Regions from separate parts of the Homo sapiens genome. Here region 2 is linked to region 1. Evidence: promoter capture Hi-C in 16 types of primary human blood cells and fetal thymus (Javierre and others, 2016). All regions are on one chromosome and are shown on one strand. Each heading gives the region's core, a stretch centred on a gene start or on the middle of the fragment in contact. The rest is flanking DNA. Distances are from core to core; before and after follow the strand shown.

What was found. Contacts are between HindIII fragments. The CHiCAGO score rates a contact against its expected background, and 5 or more counts as called.
Region 2: a fragment that was not itself captured here is called in contact with the fragment with the promoter of PPY in region 1 in 4 of 17 cell types (naive B cells, naive CD8 T cells, naive CD4 T cells and 1 more); the score reaches 6.1 in naive B cells.

Annotation. Positions count from the first base shown.
Region 1 is chr17:43,939,275-43,944,805 of GRCh38, reverse strand. It overlaps PPY (pancreatic polypeptide), which reads left to right and starts at 2,330. Exons shown (of 4, transcript NM_002722.5): 1 at 2,330-2,385; 2 at 3,152-3,342; 3 at 3,592-3,663; 4 at 3,854-4,002. The coding sequence starts at 3,152. The coding sequence ends at 3,878. The HindIII fragment of the contact is 11,028 bases long and covers 1-3,958 here.
Region 2 is chr17:44,043,230-44,048,760 of GRCh38, reverse strand. All of the region lies in intron 2 of LSM12 (LSM12 homolog), which reads left to right. Among named protein-coding and RNA genes, the nearest start is that of LSM12, 21 kb to the left of the region's middle. The HindIII fragment of the contact is 3,208 bases long and covers 1,534-4,741 here.

The DNA of each region.
Region 1 (5,531 bases), core at 1,081-3,580:
TGGAGTGTAGCGGCACGATCTCGGTTCACTGCAACCTCTGCCTCCCTGGTTCAAGTGATTCTCCTGCCTCAGCCTCCCAAGTAGCTGGGATTACAGGCATGCGCTACCACGCCCGGCTAATTTTTGTATTTTTAGTAGTGATGGGGTTTCACCATGTTGGCCAGGCTGGTCTTGAACTCCTGACCTCAGGTGATCCGCCTGCCTCAGCCTCCCAAAGTGCTGGGATTACAGGCGTGAGCCACTGCGCCTGGCCTCGGGCAGTTCTTTTCAAAGCAGTATGAGAAGGAACTAATACACATGGCCATGCAGTGTAGAAAGCACATCTACTACCACTTCCTCCTGGATTGTCACCACATCCCTGAGAGGACCCAGAAGAGGAATCTGTTGTTTGCAAAGGAGAAAAATGAAAGCTACGGTTTGGTTGACATTTGTGGAGTGCCTGTTATTTCTTAGGCACTTAGGTTTACCTCTGCGACAGGATAGAACTGTAAGTGGCCCTGGCATCTGAGTCAATCCCTAGATCCATTGTCTGTTGGGTGGGGCTGGGTCCCCACATGAGTAGCAGCCAGAACAGGTCCCTCCAAGGCCATGGTCCTGTGGGAGCTCAGATCCTTTTAACTAGGGTTGGAGCCTGGCGCCCTCTGGCGGCGAGCTGCAACCTCTACCCGCCAAACCCAAGGCCAGGCTGAGACCAGCCACCAATTCACACCCTTGTTTTGCAAGTGGAAAACCTCAGTCCAGAGAAAGGCCCGGGCTTGCTGAGACAGAATGACTTTCGTATTTGCTTTGTGGAATGTAAGTTGTCTGGTGAAGCATTATTGCTCTTCTTGTTAACCAAAATCAAAATTGAGAGGGTCAAGGCAGAACACTGATGTTTGCTGAGCCTTCCTTTATTCTCCCTATCTTCAGATGGGTGTGATGAGCCTATTTTACTGAGAGGAAAAGTGAAGCTCAGAGAGGCTAAAGAAATTACTTTCCCAGGCTCACAGAGCCAGCCAATGCAGAGCCAGGATTTGGACCCAGGTCTGTCTGACTCTAAGCCCACCCTGCCAGATCCCTGGAGTTTCACCTCCAGTCCCCTCTTCCCCAACAGTCCCCCCCATCTCCCAACTTCTTGGTATACTGATCTGGGACAGCAGAACGTCAGCAGTCATAAGTCCTTAGCTCCGTACTTGGTGTCACCGTGTCATTCAGACACAGCCAGTTACCACTCCTTGGCCTAAGCAGGGGAGGGAGACTGGGGGTTGGGAAGAGACGCTGGGCAGGGGAGACTCAGGGGCTTCTGGTGGGGATGGATTAGTGGGGTTGAGAATCTAAGCCAGAATTCGGAACCTCGGTAGCTATGAGATCTTGAGCAAGCGTCTTTACCTCTGTGAGCCTCAGGTTTCTCAGCCAAAAAGTGGGAAATTATAACAATACTTTGACGGCCCCACTTAGGAAAAAAAACAGTCCAGGTTTGGAGTTAAATTTTGGGGTCTGACTGGCTGTGGGGTTTGGGGCCAGTGATTTGACATCTCTGAGCAGATTTCAGATCCTGAATCTGTAAAATGGGTTGTTGTGGGGATTTAGTGAGGTGACTGAGCTGGCAGCACTTTGGAAAATGTGAGGCTTTACAAATGAAGCTGGTTTTTAGCACTTCCCTGGAATGGGGGCTCTGAGATGGGGAGGGAAATGGATACTGGAAACCGGCACCCCCCTCAACATTTCCCCTGAACCCAGGCACATGAGTTCTCATTCTGCATCCTATGCACCCACCAAATGGGTTTCTCCAAGCCTGGCACCCCACTCCTTTCCACCTTGCCTGAGGACCTGAGGCCCCTTCCCTCTTCCCACCTTGTTCTAGTTGCAAGCTGCAGAGGATGGCCTGAGTTTCCATTCTTCAGCCTGGAGGCTCTGGCTGTAGCCTCAGTCTTCCAGCTGCAGCCTCAATCTTCTGCCCCAAGAGAATCCGTTGGATGATTTGGGTTGATCTTTGGGAGGCAGGAGAGCTAGTTCCAAGGCCTGTGACCAAAACCTTTCAGTCACTCTCGAGTCCCAGAACCCCATCTTTCTTGAACCAAGCCTGCTCTGGTGCCCAAAGGGAAGGGGTGTCAGTGATGGGGGCCCACAGGAGACTTTTACTGTGGTCCAGTTTTATCTGTTATGCTGCTGGTCTGGCACCCACAGAACTGCCCTGTCCCCCTCCCGTCTCTGGCCTCAGTACTGGCGTTGCCAGTATGAGGAGACAGTGAGAGGAGGGGTGAGGGCTTCGGAGTGAGAGAGGCTGACAGGAGGCGGGGACTCTGGGGGGCTGAGGACTATAAAGCGGCCCAGCCGAGGGCAGGGGCCCATCCGGCCTGAGGCAGGTGCTCGCTTGGTCTAGTGCCCATTTACTCTGGACTCCGGGTAAGTGGGCTCAGCCTGCCTGGGGCTCTGGGGGCCTCCCCCAGGCTGGGGCCTGGGATGGAGAGGAGGTGGTGCTTTGCAGGGCCAGGGGCCTTGGGAGGCCTAAGGTCCTGCTTGGGTCTTGCTTTCTGCATCTGGACAGACCTGTCACGCTAGAAGAGCCGTCTGCTGACTGCACGTGTGTGTGCACACTCGTGTGCATGGCTGTGAACTGGAATGTGTGACTGTGACCTTGTGAGTGACTGGGGTCCCTGTGTGAGTGCCTTTGCTGGTCTGTGCAGGACGACATGGACAGTAGCGTCTTCTCCAGGACCGATATCTGTGTCTCTATCGCAGGGTGGAGGGCCAGACCCACAAGGCCATGGATTTCTGTCCTTGGCTTCCCGAGTTCATTCTGTGTCCCCCACCCTGTGGGTGACCTGGCATGCCCTTATTCCCACTAGCTGCTGCCTCCTGGGAGCCATGAGGCCCTGGATGTCATGAGTCCCGTGTCTCCAGGACTCACATCCCCATTTTCTCTGCTATACTTTTCTAACTTGCGAGGCCCTGGCTTGCTGGGCTGCTCACAGGACAGGCTGTCCGTGCCTTCAGAGCAGTGTCTAGGAGGTGGAGTGGCCAGCTTGGAGTGGCCCTTTGCTCTGCCCCCTTGTCCCCAGGCTTGGAGAAATGGATGATGGGCTAAGGGGCTGGATAGTTGGGCCCTGCTTCCTGGGCACGGGAAAATCTGCAGCCCGGGCTCTCCACCTCCCCTCTGCTTGCTCCTCAGATGGCTGCCGCACGCCTCTGCCTCTCCCTGCTGCTCCTGTCCACCTGCGTGGCTCTGTTACTACAGCCACTGCTGGGTGCCCAGGGAGCCCCACTGGAGCCAGTGTACCCAGGGGACAATGCCACACCAGAGCAGATGGCCCAGTATGCAGCTGATCTCCGTAGATACATCAACATGCTGACCAGGCCTAGGTGTGTGCCACAGTTGGGGAGAGAGATCCCAGCCCCTGGGACCCTGGGCCCACTCCACATTCCTGGCCACACCCTATCCCCAGCCCCAGCCCCAGCCCCTTCCAGGCCTGCTCTTGGGAAAACAGGGCATCTGTGCTCAACAGGCCTAGACCAATGTGCCCTGGGCAAGATGGTGCCTACAGGCAGATATGAAACAGGTGGGCTGGCACCTGGGCACAGTGCTTGCCCCTGCTGCCTCTTCCCTCCCAGGTATGGGAAAAGACACAAAGAGGACACGCTGGCCTTCTCGGAGTGGGGGTCCCCGCATGCTGCTGTCCCCAGGTGAGTTTGACTCCCTGCCCTGTCTGTCCAGCTCCCTGGAGCTGAAATGGGGGTGGTGGGACTGAATCAGGGCTTGGAAAGGTGTAGTGGGGGGTGGAAGAGGGAGAACAGGAGCCCAGGGCCAGCCTGAGGCCTCCTGAGGGCACGAGGCCTACCCCCTACACTGCCATGTTCTGCCCTGTCCTCACAGGGAGCTCAGCCCGCTGGACTTATAATGCCACCTTCTGTCTCCTACGACTCCATGAGCAGCGCCAGCCCAGCTCTCCCCTCTGCACCCTTGGCTCTGGCCAAAGCTTGCTCCCTGCTCCCACACAGGCTCAATAAAGCAAGTCAAAGCCACAGCCTGTCCTGTGTCTCTGTGGACCCCTGGTGGGGGCAGCAGGAAGTGCCAAATGCATGGGAGAGAAAGGGGAGGGCAGGGCAGGGCAGAGGAAAAGGGGATCATCCAGAACGTTGGCGGGGGTCATCAGAGTCACTCAACTCATCCTCTCCCCTTCGCAGAGGGAAAAGTGGTGGCCAGAGGAAGGCAGGGACTCCTCTGAGCAGATGGTCCTTCAGCAAGTCTGTGAAGTGGCAGTCTTGAATCTTCCCAGTTCAGTACCCATAGACCTTCCCGACACAGCCTGATGACAACCCTTCCCCAAGTGCACCCCTCACCAGTGCCTTACTGCAGCCTAGGCAGCAGAAGCACCAAAATTTATACGAAAGCACCCTTGGCATGGGGGCAGGGGCACAGCCCAGCCTGGAAGAACGATTCTGGTGCTATGGCAGTCATGGCTGCATCCAGGGGCCTGAGCTGCCGTCCAGAAATTTGGAGAGAATGGGCTGCCCTGAGAGGTAGTGAAGTCCTGGGCACAGGAGGTATTCAAGCTGCTGTGGAAGGGGAGGAGGCTAGATTAGCTGAGAGTTCCAGCCACCATGAGTTGAATCTGTAGATTGTACACTCCAGCCCTGGGAGGACAAGGACCTGGATCCTGCCCCAGGGAGGACTTCCCAGATTCCCAGAGAACCCATCTTTTCCTGGCCCTTCTCAGGCACCCTGAATAGGTGGGGACAGTGCGCGTGTGCATGCGTGTGTACGCGCATGTGTAAAGGGGAGAAGTGAGGGAACTAGAATGTTTCTGGTTCCTAGAAAGGCTTCTCCTGCCTCCCCCACATGCTTGGTCTCAAGGGATGGGGTTATGGGTTTGGAGGATGAGGGGTCCACTTTCCTGGGCTCAGCACCTTGCACAGAAATGGAAATGACACACAATTGTGTTTCCCCTCAAGTCCTACTCCATCTGGTGTGTGCAAATGACCTGGAAGTAGAAACAGGTCCTAAAAGGCAAAGAGCTTCTAGAGGATGCAGCTGCTTGGCTCAGATTGATTTTTTGTTTGTTTTTGGAGACAGGATCTTGCTCTGTCACCCAGGCTGGAGTACAGTGGCATGATCACAGCTCACCATAGCTTTGACCTCCTGGGCTCAAGCGATCCTCCTGCCTCAGCCTCCCAAACAGCTGGAACTACAGGCACATGCCACCACACCCAGCAAATTTTTTTATTTTTTAGAGACAGGGTCTTGCTATGTTGCCCAGCATGGTCTTAAACTCCTGGGCTCCAGCGATCTGCTCACCTCGGCCTCCCAAAATGCTGGGATTACAGGTGTGAGCCACTGTGCCCAGCCTCAGGTTGATTCTTAAATCCAAAGATGTCTGGATAGAGAGATGGTTTCGCAAAAGAACGGTTTGAGTCTGGGAGAGGGAGCCTGAAGTCCCAGCATTTTCTCTGGCAGCTTAAGGGGATGCGCGGTGAATGGGGAGAGGAGTCTGGGCTGTTTGGTAGAAACTTGAGCCAGGTGGGAGTTGGGGTGTGTCTAGCTGAAGCCCCTT
Region 2 (5,531 bases), core at 1,888-4,387, 100 kb before region 1:
ATGAAAGGAGAGCCAGGTAAGCACAGATTGTCATGTGCAGTGATTTCAAGTAAGCCATATGCACATTAATAACAAATATTTGTAAGTTTATGCTTCTTGGTTTGCCTGAACCCAGTGTGTTCTTAAACTTGGTGCTTTTTATTCTTTGAGATGCTAACCAGTTAGTGCTTCTAACTGATTGGTAGTGAGGCCAGCAGCTAGCATGTTTGCATTGAAAATGGGTGTAGTATGGGTGATAGTCATTGAATTTTTATGGTTACTTTTTTTTTTTTTTTTTTTGAGATGGAGTCTCTCTCTGTCACCCAGGCTAGAGTGCAGTGGTGCAAGCTCGGCTAACTGAAACCTCCGCCTCCCGGGTTCAAGCAATTCCTCTGCCTCAGCCTCCCAAGTAGATGGGACTACAGGTGCATGTTACTGTGCCCGGCTAATTTTTGTAATTTTTGTAGAGATGGGGTTTCGCTATGTTGACCAGGCTGGTTTCGAACTCCTGGGCTCAAGTGATCTGCCTGCCTTGGCCTCCCAAAGTGCTGGGATTACAAGCATGAGCCACTGCTCTTGGCCTGGAAAAAATTTTTCTATGTTTTGCTGCATAAAGAAAATGAAAAGACAAGCCATAGACTGGGAGAAATAATTTGCAAAACATACATCTTACAGAGCACTTGTGTCCAGAATGTATAAAGAACTCTTTTTATTTGCGTGTGTGTGTGTGTGTGTGTGTGTGTGTGTGTGTGTGTGTGTGTGTTTAATACGGACACTGTCTATGTTGTCCACACTGGTCTTGAACCCCTGGCTCAAGTGATCGGCCTTCCTCAGCCTCCCAAAGTGCTAGGATTACAGGTGTGAGTGACCACGCCCAGCCAAGAACTCTTAATAAGGCAGCCCGGGCTTGGTGGTTTATGCTTGTAATTCCAGCACTTTGGGAGGCTGAGGTGGGAGGATGATTTGAGATCAGGAGTTTGAGACTAGCCTAGGGAACACAGGGAGACCCCATCGCTACATAAAATTAAAAAAAAAAAAACAGAACAAACAAACCTGCCAGGCATAGTGGTCCTTGCTTGTGGTTCCAGATGCTTGGGAGGCTGAGGTGGGAGGATTGCTTTAGCCAAGGAGGTCAAGGCTGCAGTGAGCCATGATTATGCCAGTACACTCCAGCCTGGGCAACAGAGCAAGACCTATCTCAAAAAAGAAAATAATAATGATAATAAGACAATCCAGGCTGGGCATGGTGGCTCATGCCTGTAATCCCAGCACTTTGGGAGGCCGAGGCAGGTGAATCACCTGAGGTCAGGAGTTTGAGACCAGCCTGGCCAACGTGGTGAAACCCTGTCTTTACTAAAAATACAAAAATTAGCTGGGCGTGGTGGTGTGGGCCTGTAGTCCTAGCTACTCTGGAGGCTGAGGCAGGAGAATTGCTTGAACCTGGGAGGCAGAGGTTGTGGTGAGCTGAGATGGTGCCACTGCACTCCAGTCTGGGTGACAGAGCAAGACTCCATCTCAAAAAAAAGACAGTCCAATTAAAAATGGGCAAAAGCTTTGAATACTGTATCAGAGAAGATACAGTAATTACAAATAAGCACATAAGATGCTTGATATCATTAGACATAAAGGGAAGTACAAGTGAAAACCACAGTGTGAAACTGCTATACTTCTGCTAAAATGGCTGAGATCAGAAAGGCTAACAGTACCCAGTGTTGGTGAGTAGGTGGCAGATTTAGAACTATCAAACATTAGGGCCGGGCGCTGTGGCTTACGCCTGTAATCCCAGCACTTTGGGAGGTCGAGGCGGGTGGATCACGAGGTCAGGAGTTCGAGACCAGCCTGGCCAACATAGTGAAACCCCATCTCTACTAAAAATACAAAAAATTAGCCAGGCGTGGTGGCGGGCGCCTGTAATCCCAGCTACTCGGGAGACTGAGGCAGGAGAATCACTTGAACCCCAGAGGCGGAGGTTGCAGTGAGCCAAGATCGCGCCATTGCACTCCAGCAAAAAAAAAAAAAAAAGAAAAAAAAAAAGAAAACAGTTTGACAGTTCCTTTTTTTTTTTTTTTTTTGAGACGGAGTCTGGCTCTGTTGCCCAGGCTGGAGTGCAGTGGCGCATTAATCTCAGCTCACTGCAAGCTCCGCCTCCTGAGTTCACGCCTTTCTCCTGCCTCAGCCTCCCGAGTAGCTAGGACTACAGGCGCCCGCCACCATCCCCGGCTGATTTTTTGCATTTTTAGTAGAGACGGGGTTTCACCGTGTTAGCCAGGATGGTCTCGATCTCCTGACCCCGTGATCCATCCGCCTCGGCCTCCCAAAGTGCTGGGATTGCAGGCGTGAGCCACTGCACCCGGCCATTTTGTTTTGTTTTTAAGGAAACTTCACTAGCAGGAAAACAATTACTTTAAAAATTAAACATACACTTACCATATGACCCAGAAATTCTACTCTTAGTTATCTACCTAACAAAAGTAAAAACATGTCCACACACAGAGACTTTTTACTTTTAAAAAGCAAAATCTTTTTACTTTTAAAAAGTAAAACGTTGGCTGGGCATGGTGACTCACACCTGTAATCCCAGCACTTTGGGAGGCCGAGGCGGGCGGATCATGAGGTCAGGAGATCAAGACCATCCTGGCTAACAGGGTGAAACCCTGTCTCTACTAAAAATACAAAAATTATCCGGGCGTGGTGGCGGGCGCCTGTAGTCCCAGCTACTCGGGAGGCTGAGGCAGGAGAATGGCGTGAACCCAGGAGGCGGAGCTTGCAGTGAGCCAAGATCGCGCCACTGCACTCCAACCTGGGAGACAGAGCGAGACTCCGTCTCAAAAAAAAAAAAAAAAAAGTAAAATATTTTTACTTTTACATACACAAAGACTTGTGTGTGACTGCTGCCAAAAACTGGAAACAGCCGGGTAGGGTGGCTCATGCCTGTAATCCCAGCACCTTAGGAGGCCAAGGTGGGTGGATCGTTTGAGCTCAGGAGTTCAAGACTATCCTGGGCAATACGGTGAAACCCTGTCTCTACAAAAAAATACAACACCTTAGCTGGGCGTGGTGGTGTGCTTCTGTGGTCCCAGCTACTTGGGAAGCTGAAGTGGGAGGATTGCTTGAGCCCAGTGGGTGGAGGTTGCAGTGGGCTGAGATTGTGCCATTACATTCCAGCCTGGGTGATAGAGTGAGACTCTGTTTCAGAAAACACAAAAAACAAAACTGGAAACAATTCAGATTTTGATCAACTGTCCATCAACTAGTGAATGAATATATAAAAGGTAGAACTGTATCCTCATAGTGGAATGCTTCCTAGCAATTTAAAAAACTATTGGTACATGAAACAAAATGGATGAACCTCAGAAATGTGCTAAGTGGAAGAAGCCAGAGACGTAAGTCAACACATTGTATCATTCCATTTATATGAAATATCTAGTAAAGGAAAAACTATAGAAATAGATTTAAGGCCAGGCATGGTGGCTTACGCTTGTAATCCCAGCACTTTGGGAGGCTGAGGCGGGCAGATCACGAGGTCAGGAGTTCGAGACCAGCCTGACCAACATGGTGAACCCCTGTCTCTACTAAAAATACAAAAATTAGCCAGGCGTGGTGGTGGGCACCTGTAATCCCAGCTACTTGGGAGGCTGAGGCAGGAGAATCCCTTGAACCTGGGAGGCGGAGGTTGCAGTGAGCTGAGATCGCACCACTGCACTCCAGCCTGGGCGACAGAGCAAGACTTTGTCTCAAAAAAAAAGAAATAGATTTTAAAAAGTAATCTTGGTGGCCCTCCCAAGCCTAAAAGGCACATTCTACACTTTCTCTACTGAGGGCAGCTTTTATTGGTTCTCTCCAGTGGTTTGGCAAAAACCATAAACTTACTAACTTGGAATAATTGGGCCATTTATAGGTATATAGTCATTTGCAAAAATATGTGGGAAAATTTAGATTTGTACAGCAGCTAAATTGAGGGTAGAGTGATAATCGTTTGCTTTACAAAAGAAGGCATATTCATGTTCTGCATGAGTTTTCATGACAAAAAAGGGCAAGGTAATCTCCTTCTCCCCACCCTCAATTTTGAAAAAAGGAAACACTTCTAGTTTCTTTTATTGAGAGCGGTCTCCCCCATTGATGGGGACCCCTAATTGATGGGGTCCTCTCTAGGAGATTTTATCCCATTTGTACAGCTTCCTGGTAAAAGCAGATCTGTGTAGCTGAGTCCGGATCCCTAAAGCATTACTGTAGGTTGAGTATATTGGGGGCAAACTGAAAATATATACAGTCAGCTTACAGTCATTTCTGCTGACTTTTCTAAGTGCTCCCTTACATCATTTAGCATTTGGGATGTTTGCATTAGAATTGAAATAGAGAATTGTCTAGTCCATTCTCCTTTGCTTTTGGAGACTTTAGGGGAGATTGCACTTGCACAACTGGTATTTTGGCGGGGGTGGGGGGTGTATTTTGAAATCATTGTTCTATAACCAGTGTGTCATTGTTACTCAGCCTGTCTAAAGAATCACTTCTGGCTGAGATTTATATCCATTTTATTTTCTCTCTGGCAAAAATTCAAGTGGCTCTTCTTCCAGCTTTTTTTTCTCCCCTTCTCTAGCTTAATTTGTCAGTTCCATTCTTAAACATTCTGCATAGATGCCTGGTTTCCTGAGCCAACTCTTGTCTCTTACTAAATGGGGTGATGTTATGTTTTTAAGCTGCTATGTAGGTGACAACGACATTTTACTCTTTGAACGTTCAGACTATCTAGTCAACACAAGCTTTATAGAAGCAGCTTTCTCTGACCCAGCATTCGGAGATGATTTGGATTTTCAGGAATAAACGTTTTTAAAGGGGATTGAGGTTTCAAAGTGAGATCTTCCAGCCTGCTTATAAGGTAAATGCCCGCCTGTCCACTAGATGCTTCCCAGGAGCTCTGCCACCCTCCAGTTTTTCCTTCTTTCCTTAAAGACTTCAGATTTTTTTTTTTTTTTTTAATAGAGGCAGGGTCCCACTATGTTGCCCAGGCTGGTCTGTAACTACTGGGCTCAAGTGATCTTCCTCCCTCAGCCTCCCAAAATGCTGGGATTACAGGCGTGAGCCACAGCGCTGGCCGACTTCAGATTTTCTTAAGGCATTGTTTGGAAAGCAAGATTCAAGGAAACTCCTCCTTAGGTTGCAGTGAGCTGAGATTGCACCACTGCACCAGCCTGGGCCACAGAGCAAGACTCCATCTCAAAAAAAAAAAAAAAAAGGAAACTCCTCCTTGTTACCGGGGTTTTTTTGGTGCTTGAGTAAGCGTTGCTTGTTGCTGCTTAAAATACATCATCAGCAGCTCTTTCCATAGAAACTACAAGGCTTTCTTGTTACAGTTGGGATTGCCACTGCTTGGAATGCTGTCAGCCTGTGTGTTTATTTGTCTGTAAAGTTATAGCCTGGTAGGGCCAGAATGGCAGCCAGTCTTGAAAGATTATATATATATTGCTGCTGTATTTGTCTCTCTCCATGTCCTAGAGATCCTGTGAAAAAGGAGCTCTGGCTTCAGATCACTGCAGGGTTTTGCCATTCTTCCC